4 separate regions of the Homo sapiens genome follow, and regions 1, 2 and 3 are each linked to region 4. The links are contacts of gene promoters, found by promoter capture Hi-C in blood cells and fetal thymus (Javierre and others, 2016). All regions are on one chromosome and are shown on one strand. Each heading gives the region's core, a stretch centred on a gene start or on the middle of the fragment in contact. The rest is flanking DNA. Distances are from core to core; before and after follow the strand shown. Region 1 has its middle 5.4 kb from the start of CD244. Region 2 overlaps CD244 (CD244 molecule). Region 3 holds the start of ITLN1 (intelectin 1). Region 4 holds the start of ITLN2 (intelectin 2).

Region 1 (2,878 bases), core at 304-2,803, 87 kb after region 4:
GCACACAGCGTTGCATTCTGTTTCCCTGATGTCTTCCCTTAGAGCTCAAGGGCACTAGGTATATAACACACTTCTTGAGTGGCCACAGGCAACACTCTTAACATTTTCACTTCTTACATAACATGGAGTGCCATCTTTCCAACCTTCAATATTAATTTCTTCATCATCAGTAGGCCTATTACCAAGCCAATGCTACGTGTTTTAGGTATTTACTGAAGCTGGAGAAAGGAGTGTGTTGACTGGTGTCTTGCTTCTCCTAAAGGCTTCAGCCTGACAGTGACACTTTCTGCTTACATTGCTTGGCCAGAGCAAGACACATGGTCCTGTTTAACTCCAAAGAGAAGTGCAGCCTTCCATGTCCCCACCCTGCCCCAAAAGAGGAGAATTGTATCAGAGTGAACAACACTAATGATTACCTGAAAGGTTTCATGATGAGGTGGTATTAGTGGTCTTTCTTTGTGGTTGTAACAAGCAGCCAGAGACGCATGGCAGCTAGGTCAGCTCCCTCTCTCACTCTCCTTCTACCCCCGTCCACCTCTCTCTCACCTTCCTTTGTTTCACAATGCAATGGACGCTTATCATGACACAACCCAACAACTAGAATATTATTATTAATCTACACCTACCTCTGTGTTCCTCTATGTCACTCCATCCCTCCCTTCTTCCTTAGTTGTTGCCATTATCTCAATTTGTGGTTAAGATCCTATTGCTTAAGCTACTTTTTAACAATCATGCACACACATCATGCAGATGCCCAAATAATATGTTTAATTTTTTGTTTTTAAACTATATAAAAATACTATCATATTGTATATTGTCTTCTGGTGCTTATTTTTTCCTATGACATTATGTAACTACTGTTCTCCTGTGCTGTCCCACATTCATTTTTGATGCTATTGAATTTACATTGTATGAATAGATCACATCTTGTTTTTCCACTCTCCCATTGCCATTTGTTTTGTCTCCAGTTTTTTTTCCAATAAAAAACAATGCTGTTATGCACATTGTCATATGTGTCTCCAGGTATATATGTGCTAAACTGTCTCTTATATGTAGGTATATAACTAGATGTCATATTGCTGGATCATTAGAGTTTATAAATATTTTACTTTACAAGATAACACCAATTTATTTCCACAGAATTGTACCAATTTACATTCCCATCAGCTGTATATAATTGATCCAATTGATCCATATGCCCTCAAATACTTGGTATTACCAGACTTCTTTATTTTTGCCCATTAAATTCTTGAACTCAGCCGCCCAAAATGTTAAGATTACAGGTGTGAGTCATCGCACCTGGCCAGAGGCAACTTCTTAGCAGGAGAGGGTATGCCAGAAAAACCCAGAGAGCTTCACATGAAAATCATGTAGGGAGGTCAGTTAGCACACGGATAGGGGAAGAAGAAGAGGAACTCTTAGAGAACAGGAAGCCAGTTTTAGGTTCTTCATCTTCTATAATCTCATATGTGAATGTGTGGGCCCATGCAACCTGTGTGGTAGGTTCAGTGACACATAGAATCAGGGAAACTCTCAGCACTGATGAGGATTCTACATGAGGGATAAACAGCAATGTGAAATAGAATAAAATAGCAATGTGATGTAGAATAAAATACTCCACAGTAAAGTTTTGTCATGTCAAAACAATTTCATGGTCAATTATGGATATTCAAACCACTAAAATAACAATTTGGTTGTAAGTTGTATTGGTCTGTTTTCACTCTGCTGATAAAGACAGACCCAAGACTGGGAAGAAAAAGAAGTTTAATTGGACTTACAGTTCCACATGGCCGGGGAGGCCTCACAATCATGGTGGGAGGTGAAAGGTACTTCTTACATGGTGGCAGCAAGAGAAAATGAGGAAGGAGCAAAGTGGAAACCCTGATAAACCTGTCAGATCTCGTGAGTCTTATTCACTATCACGAGACTAGCACAGGAAAGACCCTCCCCTATGATTCAGTTACCTCCCCCTGGGTCCCTCCCACAGCACGTGGGAATTCTGGGAGATACAATTCAAGTTGAGATTTTGGTGGGGACACAGCCAAACCATATCATAAGTTTATCTGATTACACCACTAAACTTTGATCACATTCATTTCTTTCTAGGTGTCAACGTAGCACAGAAAAATTAAAAGAGAACATTGGCTTGCACAAATGACTTTATCATTATAACCCCAATTTTGATTTTCTGTATTTGTAATTCACAAACTAGATAAAATTCACAAACTAGATGGTAGGGCACTTAGAAGTCATTATGTTTTTTTTTTTTTAATTGCAAAACACTTGGTCTACTAATATGTCAAACATAAAAATCTCAGAATATAATTTCATACTAAATCAGATTCTGATTTATACAATGTAATAAAAGATACAAATGTATAAGACAAATTTATATTTAATTATCTTTAAATAGGAGGCTAAATAGGAGGCTATTCTATGGTGCATTTCCCTTGCAATTTGGGAAAACTTTTTTGTACCTTTTTCACGTAGAAACATTTTGTTCCAACACAGGGAAGCAGAGATTGATTCCATTTCCCACACCACATTGCTAGTGTCAGAGAGATAGCCTGCGGTTCTCTGCATCGTCAGAGCTGTTTCTCACACTGAATCTGGGAATGGCAAATTTCTTGTTATGTTGAATTCTGAGATGAGTTAAGACATGGATTGCACTCTTTAGCCTTTGCTCCTGTGGATGTGGGTTCTCTGCGTTATCTGATGTCCCATAAATTGTTTTGAGAGGCTCTGTCTTCCATCTTCTTTATGAGACTGTTGCATCTCTTACCTTTAACCTGAACCTGAAAGTTATCACAGCCAATAAATAAACAATAACTGGCTACTTCTCTTCCAACAAGTGAAAGCCCACAGAAGATAAATGTAC
Region 2 (2,700 bases), core at 73-2,572, 100 kb after region 4:
ATCAAGGTTTTTTTTCCTTATAGATATCAATTTGACCAAGCACCATTTATTGAAAAGATCAAGTATGTGTTGGTTTGTGTGATATTGTGAAATATATATTTGGTTTTCAACCTCCTTTCCTGGCATACAATTCCTAAAATTTTTAGAAATTCCGAAGTGATGTCTTTTTGTAGGCTAATGAGGTGACCGATGGCTGGCAGCCTGTAGGCAGCTTCGGGATAGGGGCCGGTCACCAGAAAGACCAAGGCAGGGTTGGAATATTGGACTCTGAGCCCGTCCCCAACCTTCAGGAAAAGGAGAGGGATTGAAGGTTAAGTTGATCACCGATGGCCAGTGGTCAATCATTCCCATTTATTGAGGCCTCCATAAAAACCCAAAGAACAAGGTTCAGAGAGCTAAACATGCGGAGGTTCCTGGAGGGTGGCACGCCCTGGGAAGGCATGGAAACTCTGTATCCCTTCCCCTACACCTTGTCCTATGCATCTCTTCATAGGTACCCTTTGTAATAACCTTTATAATAATCCAGTGAATGTGTTTCCCTGAGTTCTGTGAGCCATCTAGCAAATTAATTGAACCCAAGGAGGGAATAACGGGAAACCCAGTTTATAGCTAGTTGGTCAGAAGCGCAGGTAAAACAATCTGGAGCTTGCAGTTGGCATCTGGTGGATATCTACAGGTAGATAGTGTCAGAATTGAACTGAATTAGAGGACATCCAGTTGGTGTCCACTGAAGAGCTGATTGCTTGCTTGGCACGTGGGAAACTCCCCACACGTTGGTCACAGAAGTCTTCTGTGTTGATTGTTGTGGTGTGAAACCAGAGGAAAAACAGTTAGTGTTTTTCCCACACACAGGGTCTATTTCTAGACTATTATATTCCATCGACTACTTTTCAATCCTTGCAATACTGGAATGCTATCTTAATTTCTGAAGTTTTACAATATATCTTGATATTAGGTAGTGAAAACCTTCTAGCTTTGTTCTTCATCAAGATTGCCTTGGCTATTCTATGTCTTTTACATTTTCATATAAGTTTTAGAATCAACTTGTTAATTTCTATAAAAATAACCTGCAATAATTTTTATTGGAATTCTATTGAATCTATAAATTAATTTAGGAAGAATTGACATCTTAGCAATATTAAGTCTTCCAATAAAAACCATGGTATAGTCTCCTGTTTATTTAGCTCTTTAATTTTTTCTCAGCAATCTTTTGTTGCAATAGGTGTATAGGTCTTAAATATTTCTTCTTGAAATTATTTCTATATATTTTATCTTTTTTGTGCTGCTGTAAATAGTATTGTTTTCAAAATTTCATTTTTATCTGTTTGTACTAATATATAGAAATAAAAATGATTTTTGTATATTGACCTTATATCTAGCAATTTTGCAAAACTGACTTCTACACTCAAATAATTTTTCATATAGTCCTCTTGGTTTCCTATATACACAGGTATATAGTTTGTGAATAATGACAGTTTCACATATTCATTTTTTTTTTGAGATGGAGTTTTGCTCTTGTTGCCCAGGCTGGAGTGCAATGGTGCCATCTTGGCTCACTGCAGCCTCCGCTTCCCGGGTTCAAGTGATTCTCCTGCCTCAGCCTCCCGAGTAGCTGGGATTTCAGGTGACTGCCACCCGCCTGGCTAATTTTTGTATTTTTAGTAGAGATGGAGTTTCACTGTGTTGGCCAGGCTGGTCTCGAACTCCTGACCTCAGGTGAGCTGCCCAAAGTGCTGGGATTACAGGCGTGAGCCACTGCGCCCAGCCTCACATATTCATTTCTAATTTTTATTCCCTTTGACTATTTTCCTTGTTTTGTTGAACTAGCCATGACCTCCAGTACAATGTTGATTAAAAGAGGTAATTATGGAATCCTTTTTCTGTTCCTGAGTTTGCAGGGACATGGATGAAGCTGGAAGCCATCGTTCTCAGCAAACTAACACAGGAACAGAAAACCAAACACCACGTGTTCTCACTCAAAGTGGGAGTTGAACAATGAGAACATATGGGCACAGGGACGGGAATATCACACACCAGGGCCTGTTAGTGGGTGAGGGGCAAGGGGAGGGAGGCATTAGGACAAATACCTAATGCATGTGGGGCTTAAAACCTAGATGATGGGTTGATAGGTGCAGCAAACCACCATGGCACACGTATACCTACGTAACAAATCTGCATGTTCTGCATACGTATCCCAGAACTTAAAGTAAAACAAAAAAAAAAAAAAGAAAGAGATGGGTACAAATGTGAATGTTTGTTGTTTTGAACAAACCTCTCCAACCATGTTTTTCCTCTGCTCCCACATCAAAATAATAACAATCATCAACATAGAAGACTTCTGTGACCAAATGCAGGGAGGTGGATTTCTCCTCACAGCAAACTGAATAATGTATTCTGCAGTGGACACCAGCTGGGTGTTCTCCAATTCAGTTCAGACACTAACTGGAGAGAGTGTCAGACCACAGAGGCTGGGGGCTCAGTCCCCAACACCACCCCTCCACCACACCAGTTCTAAGTCTGGGCCTCCAGAACTTCGGACCAACCAGCTTCCAGTTGGGGTTCTCACAACCCCCTCCTTGGGTTCAATTAATTTGCTGGAGTGGCTCACATAAACCAGGGAAACATTTATGTTTGCTGGTCTATTATAAGAGATATTACAAAGGATACAGATGAAGAGATGGCATAGGGCAAGGTATGGGG
Region 3 (2,806 bases), core at 260-2,759, 70 kb after region 4:
CAGCTAATTTTATATTTTTAGTAGAGACACGGTTTCACCGTGTTGATCAGGCTGGTCTTGAACTCCTGACCTCAAGTGATTGGCCACCCTCGTCCCCTCAAAGTGCTGGGATTACAGGTGTAAGCCGCAGCGCCTGGCTGAGACCTCTATTTCTAAGAGGTTGTTGTTTGTAAATATGAAAGCTGGGTATGTTCATTTTGTTACCTATACTGATGAGTTAATTTAGTTTCTAATACATTTAATTTTATTTAATTAATTATTTTCCAGATACACAGAGCAAATAGCTTCTAATAGATTTTAAATTTACAAAAGTATAACTTTTTTTTGCAGTTTTTCTTCTTGGGTGCTATTTTATTTTCTTCTATCAATATGTGAGTATTTTTTGCAAATCAGTACTTTGAACCAACAAATAGGAAATATTAGCTTAACAAAAAAGATATTCACAATCTTTGTAAGAAAAGGTTGCAGTATTATTAATGCTATAATGACATTATGTATTAAATGTATGATATCACTGGGGAAGAACTGAGTAATTCTATTACAGCTGCAGGGTAGCATTTGAGAACTTCATGACATAGGAGCAGGAATAAGACAGGAGGTTCGAAGCAGCAGAGAGGTTTCGTATTGATTCAGTTTCAAATGAATCCTGTAGTAAATTTTCCCTCGTTTGTGGCAAAATGACAAAATTAAAGACAAAGTAGTGAGTCTTTGTGTGAAACTAAATTATTCAAACTAAAGATTTATATATTTTTTAAAACTTTTCTATTCGTATTTTTTTGTGTGTTTTGTATCTCTTTCCCCTCCATTCCTTTTTACCAATTTATTCAGAAATGATCACTTTCCCATTTTGTTAAAATTTCCTTTTTCTATTTCTATGAATTGATAATTATGGCCAATGATTAATTTCATTTATTTATTTATTTTGAGATACCTAAGCTGAAGTACAGTGGCACGGTCATATTTCACTGAATCCTCTATCTCTGGGACTTAAGTTACCCTTTTGCCTTGCCTCAGCCCCACCTGAAACTATAGGCAAGTACCACCATGCCATGCTAATTTTTTTACTTTTATTTTTAGTAGAGAAGAGGTTGCCCTATGTTGCCCAGGCTGGTCTCAAACTCCTGAGTTCAAGTGATCCTTCTGCCTTGGCCTCCCAAAGTATTGGGATTTGAGCCAATGTGCCAAGCCAACAGATGCTTAATTTAGAGAAAGTTTTTATTTTGCAAGAAAGAAAGGCACAAAAACCCAAAACCAACACCAACTCTTGTTAATCTCTTCGTCTACTTCCTACTTGACACAGGTCCATGAAACCCCCAGATCCAGGAACAACGCTAGCAGGTGATTCTTAGGATTGGTTTTTTCTTTAGAACCTGTTAATTCCACTGTATAAATAACCTCCCCGAGATAACCAGAAGCCTCCCCTGCACTGGGCATTGTGCCAGGGGAGGGTGAGGCTGGAAACCTTGGTTGGCCCCACTGGGCTTCCTCCATAAAGCTTTCTGCACCTCATTCCACATCAGGAGCGTTTTTGGAGAAAGCTGCACTCTGTTGAGCTCCAGGGCGCAGTGGAGGGAGGGAGTGAAGGAGCTCTCTGTACCCAAGGAAAGTGCAGCTGAGACTCAGACAAGGTCTGTGAGTTGGGGGAATCCTGTTTTCAGCTTAGGTCTGCTTTTGGTCTCAGAGATGTGTGAAGTTTAAACAAAAGGCAAGGGGTTTTGGAGTCTTTGTAAGACTGGACAGGGGTGGGGCAGGGATGTAGAGAAAAATGATGGCCAAGATGGTGACCTTCATCTTGCTTTCTTTAGATTACAATGAACCAACTCAGCTTCCTGCTGTTTCTCATAGCGACCACCAGAGGATGGAGTACAGGTGAGTCACGCTGCTAGGGACAGCAGTTCCTTCAGCTGGATGACTTCCGGGATCCTGGTCTCTCCCAGGACACAGAGCATGTCCTTGAGATGCACAGCGGCTGGCTTGCATGTAGACTGAGTGCCGATTTCTGGTCTCTGGCGGAATCTGGCCTGTGGCAGTGAAGGTATTGCTTGAGGCATGTCCTGGGTCCAGGCTCTGTGCTTTTGTGTGGCCCTGAGGGGGCTGTGGCAAGAACTGTGTCACCTTCCAGCCACTGCCCACTCCTGTGGCCTTGGCTGTGGGATTTCCATGGGAACTACATGGTCTGCTTTGTGCCTGGAGAATGTTCTCTCCACAGTTTTCCTCTCTACAACAAGAATAACAATGACATTTTAAAATTTATATTTTTCTTCACGTCTAAAAATTTTTTTTTTAAAGAAAAGGCTGTTTCGAAATATCTTCTTACTTCATCTTTGCAAAAGCACTGTTTATTAACTGTGTTTTAGGTATGAGGAAACTGAGGTCAGTCACCTCTGACCTCACAGCTTTCCCCTAGACTGTTCGAATAGTTTGCAGACTTTTTGGAGTAGAGATTAGTCTCACCACTCCCTACTTCACACCCCATGTTTCAGCCATATTAAGCAGCTTGTAGTTCTACAGCTGGACTACGCTGTATTTTTTTTTTTTTCTCTAGGCCTTTGGATATGCTGTTTTCCCTGCCTTGGATTGGCTTCCTACTGATAAATCATGTTTATTCTCTCAGAATAAGCTAAGATGTCACCTGGACTGGAAGGTCTTCTGTGACTAAGACATGAGACAACCCGTCTTGCCTTCTTCTCCCAGGCAACTGCCCCGCTTACTGTCTGGCGTTTCCATTCTCCACTGTTACCTCAGAGTCTTTCTTTTGTTCTCTTGAGTTTGCCTTTCTTCTACCATTTATTCTTGTCAATACAAT
Region 4 (2,830 bases), core at 81-2,580:
AATCCCAGTTACTCGGGAGGCTGAGACAGGAGAATCACTTGAACCTGGGAGGCGGGGGTTGCAGTAAGCTGAGACCATGCCATTGCACTCCAACCTGGGTGACAGAGTGAGGCTCTGTGTCAAAAAACAAAACAAAATAAAAAAAACCCATACGCATTTATTTAAAGGTAAAAGCCCATGATGTATGTACCTTACCTTCAAATGGTTCAGAAAAAAATTTTGTGTGTGTGGGTGTATTTTATATACATATATCTATATATATATAGAGAGAGAGAGAGAGAACACGAAAGATAAAGCAAATGGGGTGAAATATTAACAATAGTTGAATCTAGGTAAAGGGCATATATGTGGCTTTATATTATTGTTATTTTTGCAACATTTAATAAATTTCAAATTGTTTCTAAACAGAGTTAATAAAACAATAAAATTACAGCAGGATACATGCAATAATTAGTGTTTGGACAGTGTATAGTGGGACAAAGGAAGGATCCATCAGCTTTGTCTGGTGATGGGGGTGTCAGGGAAGGCCTCATAGAGAAATTGGAGGAAAGATTGGAAGGATGATGTCTTCTTTTCCCATTTATTTATTATTATTATTATTATTATTATTTTGAGGTGAAGTCTTGCTCTGTTGCCCAGGCTGGAGTGCAGTGGAGCAGTCTTGGCTCACTGCAACCTCCACCTCCTGGGTTCAAGCAGTTCTCCTGTCTCAGCCTCCAGAGTAGCTGGGATTACGGGTGCACGCCACTGCACCCAGCTAAATTTTTGTATTTTTAGTAGAGACAGGGTTGCACCATGTTGGCTGGTCTTGAACTCCTGACCTCAGGTAATCCGCCCACCTCGGCCTCCCAAAGCGCTATGATTATAGGTGTGAGCCACTGTGCCTGGCCAATTATTATTCTTAATTAATTAATTTATTTTTCATGAGGTGTCACCTCAGTCTAAAAGGATGATTTCTTGACAGAGTTGTGTCTAGGGGGCCAGGGCATCTGGGGGAGGTGGGAGAGGGAGAACGCAGGGGAGGATTGTGACCTATCCACGAATCTGATTAGATACTGCTACATTGTATGGCCTGCCTTGGCAAAGCAGGATGCCCCTCCTCAGATGGCGACAGTCACCTGTGTGGCCAGGAACACAGCTCCCTGCTCCTCCAGCCAGTCGCACGTCCTTTCTCATTTCCACGGTCCCAGGCTCAGGTACCCTCAGAGGGAAGGGCTTCAGAGGGAGGGGCTAGCAGCCTAGGCTGCTCAGGGTTGGGCTGGGCAGGGCTCAGGTGGTTTGGCTCTCCACAGCTCTCCACATAAAGGGACCAGCACTTCACCCTTCATCAGGATCCTCTGCAGGGGAGCTCCGAGTGTCCACAGGAAGGGAACTATCAGCTCCTGGCATCTGTAAGGATGCTGTCCATGCTGGTGAGAAAAATGTTTTTGATCCATGTGTGTGGGAGCAATGATGCCAGCTCAGGTCTCAGTTTTAGAGATTTAGAGTTTCAGGGAAATGAGCCCATGGCCCCTTGGGTATTTGTAGTGTTGGACAGCCGTGGGGCATATTCCAGGAGGTTTTAGAATGCTCATGAGCCCATCACTTTCCATTTGAGGATTCCTGACTCAGAAAGGTTAGGAAGTAAGAACGAGAGGATGACAAAGGAAGGGCCAGCCAGTGACCTTGTGCATCTTGTTTTTCCTTAGAGGACAATGACCAGACTCTGCTTCCTGTTATTCTTCTCTGTGGCCACCAGTGGGTGCAGTGCAGGTAAATGGCTTCTGAGAGTAGGAGCTGCAGTTTCCTGGGCTCCCCTCTGCTGTGCAGGGCCTGGAGGGAGTAGAGCTGGGCAGGGCTCTGAAGTCAAGGGTCAAAGGGGAAGTTCTGGAGAGGCAGGGAACCCAGGCTAGGCAGCCAACTTGAGGTGTGGACTGGGTGCTGATTTCTGGCCTCTCCTGGGGTCTGGTCTGAAGCAGTCAGGGTGTTAGCTCAGGTATTTCCTAGGGCTTGATTCTCTGCTTCTGTGGCTGTGAGGGGTTCATGGGGTGAGAGAGTAAGAACTGTGTCCCTGCTCAGCTGCTCTTGTGGCCTTGGCCTTGGGATCTCCAGAGGCAGCTGGGTGATCAGTGCTGTGTCCAGGGTACACCCTCCTCTAGTCGCAGAGGAGGATATTGTGAGAATAGAATCCTCACAATTCTATTCTTCCAGTAGGCACAATAGTGATATTTTTTCATTGATACTGGGTTTATTGTTTATTTCAATCCATCAGTTAAAAAAAGCACATTTACATATGTCATCTCATTTGATCTCCATGCGTATAAAGAAGTTATTAATGACATCTTAAAGATGAAGAAAAAGGATCAGAGATGTTAAGTGTCTGCTCAAGGAGGCACTGTCATCAGGGTTTGTCTGGATTTTACCTTGAGTCCTGTAATTTTTTTTTTTTTAGACGGAGTCTTGCTCTGTTGCCCAGGTTGGAGTGCGGTGGCGTGATGTCGGCTCACTGCAACCTCCGTCTCCTGGGTTAAAGAGCTTCTCCTGCCTCAGCCTCCCCAGTAGCTGGGATTACAGGTGTGCACCACCACACCCCAGCTAATTTTTGTATTTTTAGTAGAGATGGGGTTTCACCATATTGACCAGGCTGTTCTTGAACTCCTGATCTTGTGATCCACCCTCCTCGGCCTCCGAAAGTGCTGGGATTACCGGCATGAGCCACTGTGCCTGGCCTGAGTCCTGTAATTTTACACTTTTTCCCGCTCTGCCAGGCTTTTGGAATGATTTCTAGGCTTTTAGACTTATATACATGGCCCTTCATCCACTGGCCTCTGTTAATTTTTCAGCTTTGGTT

Evidence for each region. The method cuts DNA at HindIII sites, captures the fragments that hold promoters and counts their contacts. A CHiCAGO score of 5 or more calls a contact.
Region 1: a contact is called between a fragment that was not itself captured here and the fragment with the promoter of ITLN2 in region 4, in 2 of 17 cell types (M2 macrophages and M0 macrophages). The highest score is 6.3, in M2 macrophages.
Region 2: a contact is called between a fragment that was not itself captured here and the fragment with the promoter of ITLN2 in region 4, in 6 of 17 cell types (M0 macrophages, M2 macrophages, M1 macrophages and 3 more). The highest score is 9.3, in M0 macrophages.
Region 3: a contact is called between the fragment with the promoter of ITLN1 here and the fragment with the promoter of ITLN2 in region 4, in 2 of 17 cell types (M2 macrophages and M0 macrophages). The highest score is 5.6, in M2 macrophages.

What each region holds. Positions count from the first base shown.
Region 1 is chr1:160,866,828-160,869,705 of GRCh38, reverse strand. No RefSeq gene overlaps it. Among named protein-coding and RNA genes, the nearest start is that of CD244, 5.4 kb to the right of the region's middle. The HindIII fragment of the contact is 3,347 bases long and covers 1-2,878 here.
Region 2 is chr1:160,848,811-160,851,510 of GRCh38, reverse strand. The region is part of intron 1 of CD244 (CD244 molecule); the gene reads left to right. Among named protein-coding and RNA genes, the nearest start is that of CD244, 13 kb to the left of the region's middle. The HindIII fragment of the contact is 2,789 bases long and covers 1-2,700 here.
Region 3 is chr1:160,883,883-160,886,688 of GRCh38, reverse strand. It overlaps ITLN1 (intelectin 1), which reads left to right and starts at 1,509. Exons shown (of 8, transcript NM_017625.3): 1 at 1,509-1,628; 2 at 1,806-1,869. The coding sequence starts at 1,812. The HindIII fragment of the contact is 4,692 bases long and covers 1,498-2,806 here.
Region 4 is chr1:160,953,309-160,956,138 of GRCh38, reverse strand. It overlaps ITLN2 (intelectin 2), which reads left to right and starts at 1,330. Exons shown (of 8, transcript NM_080878.3): 1 at 1,330-1,412; 2 at 1,689-1,752. The coding sequence starts at 1,398. The HindIII fragment of the contact is 24,751 bases long and covers 1-2,830 here.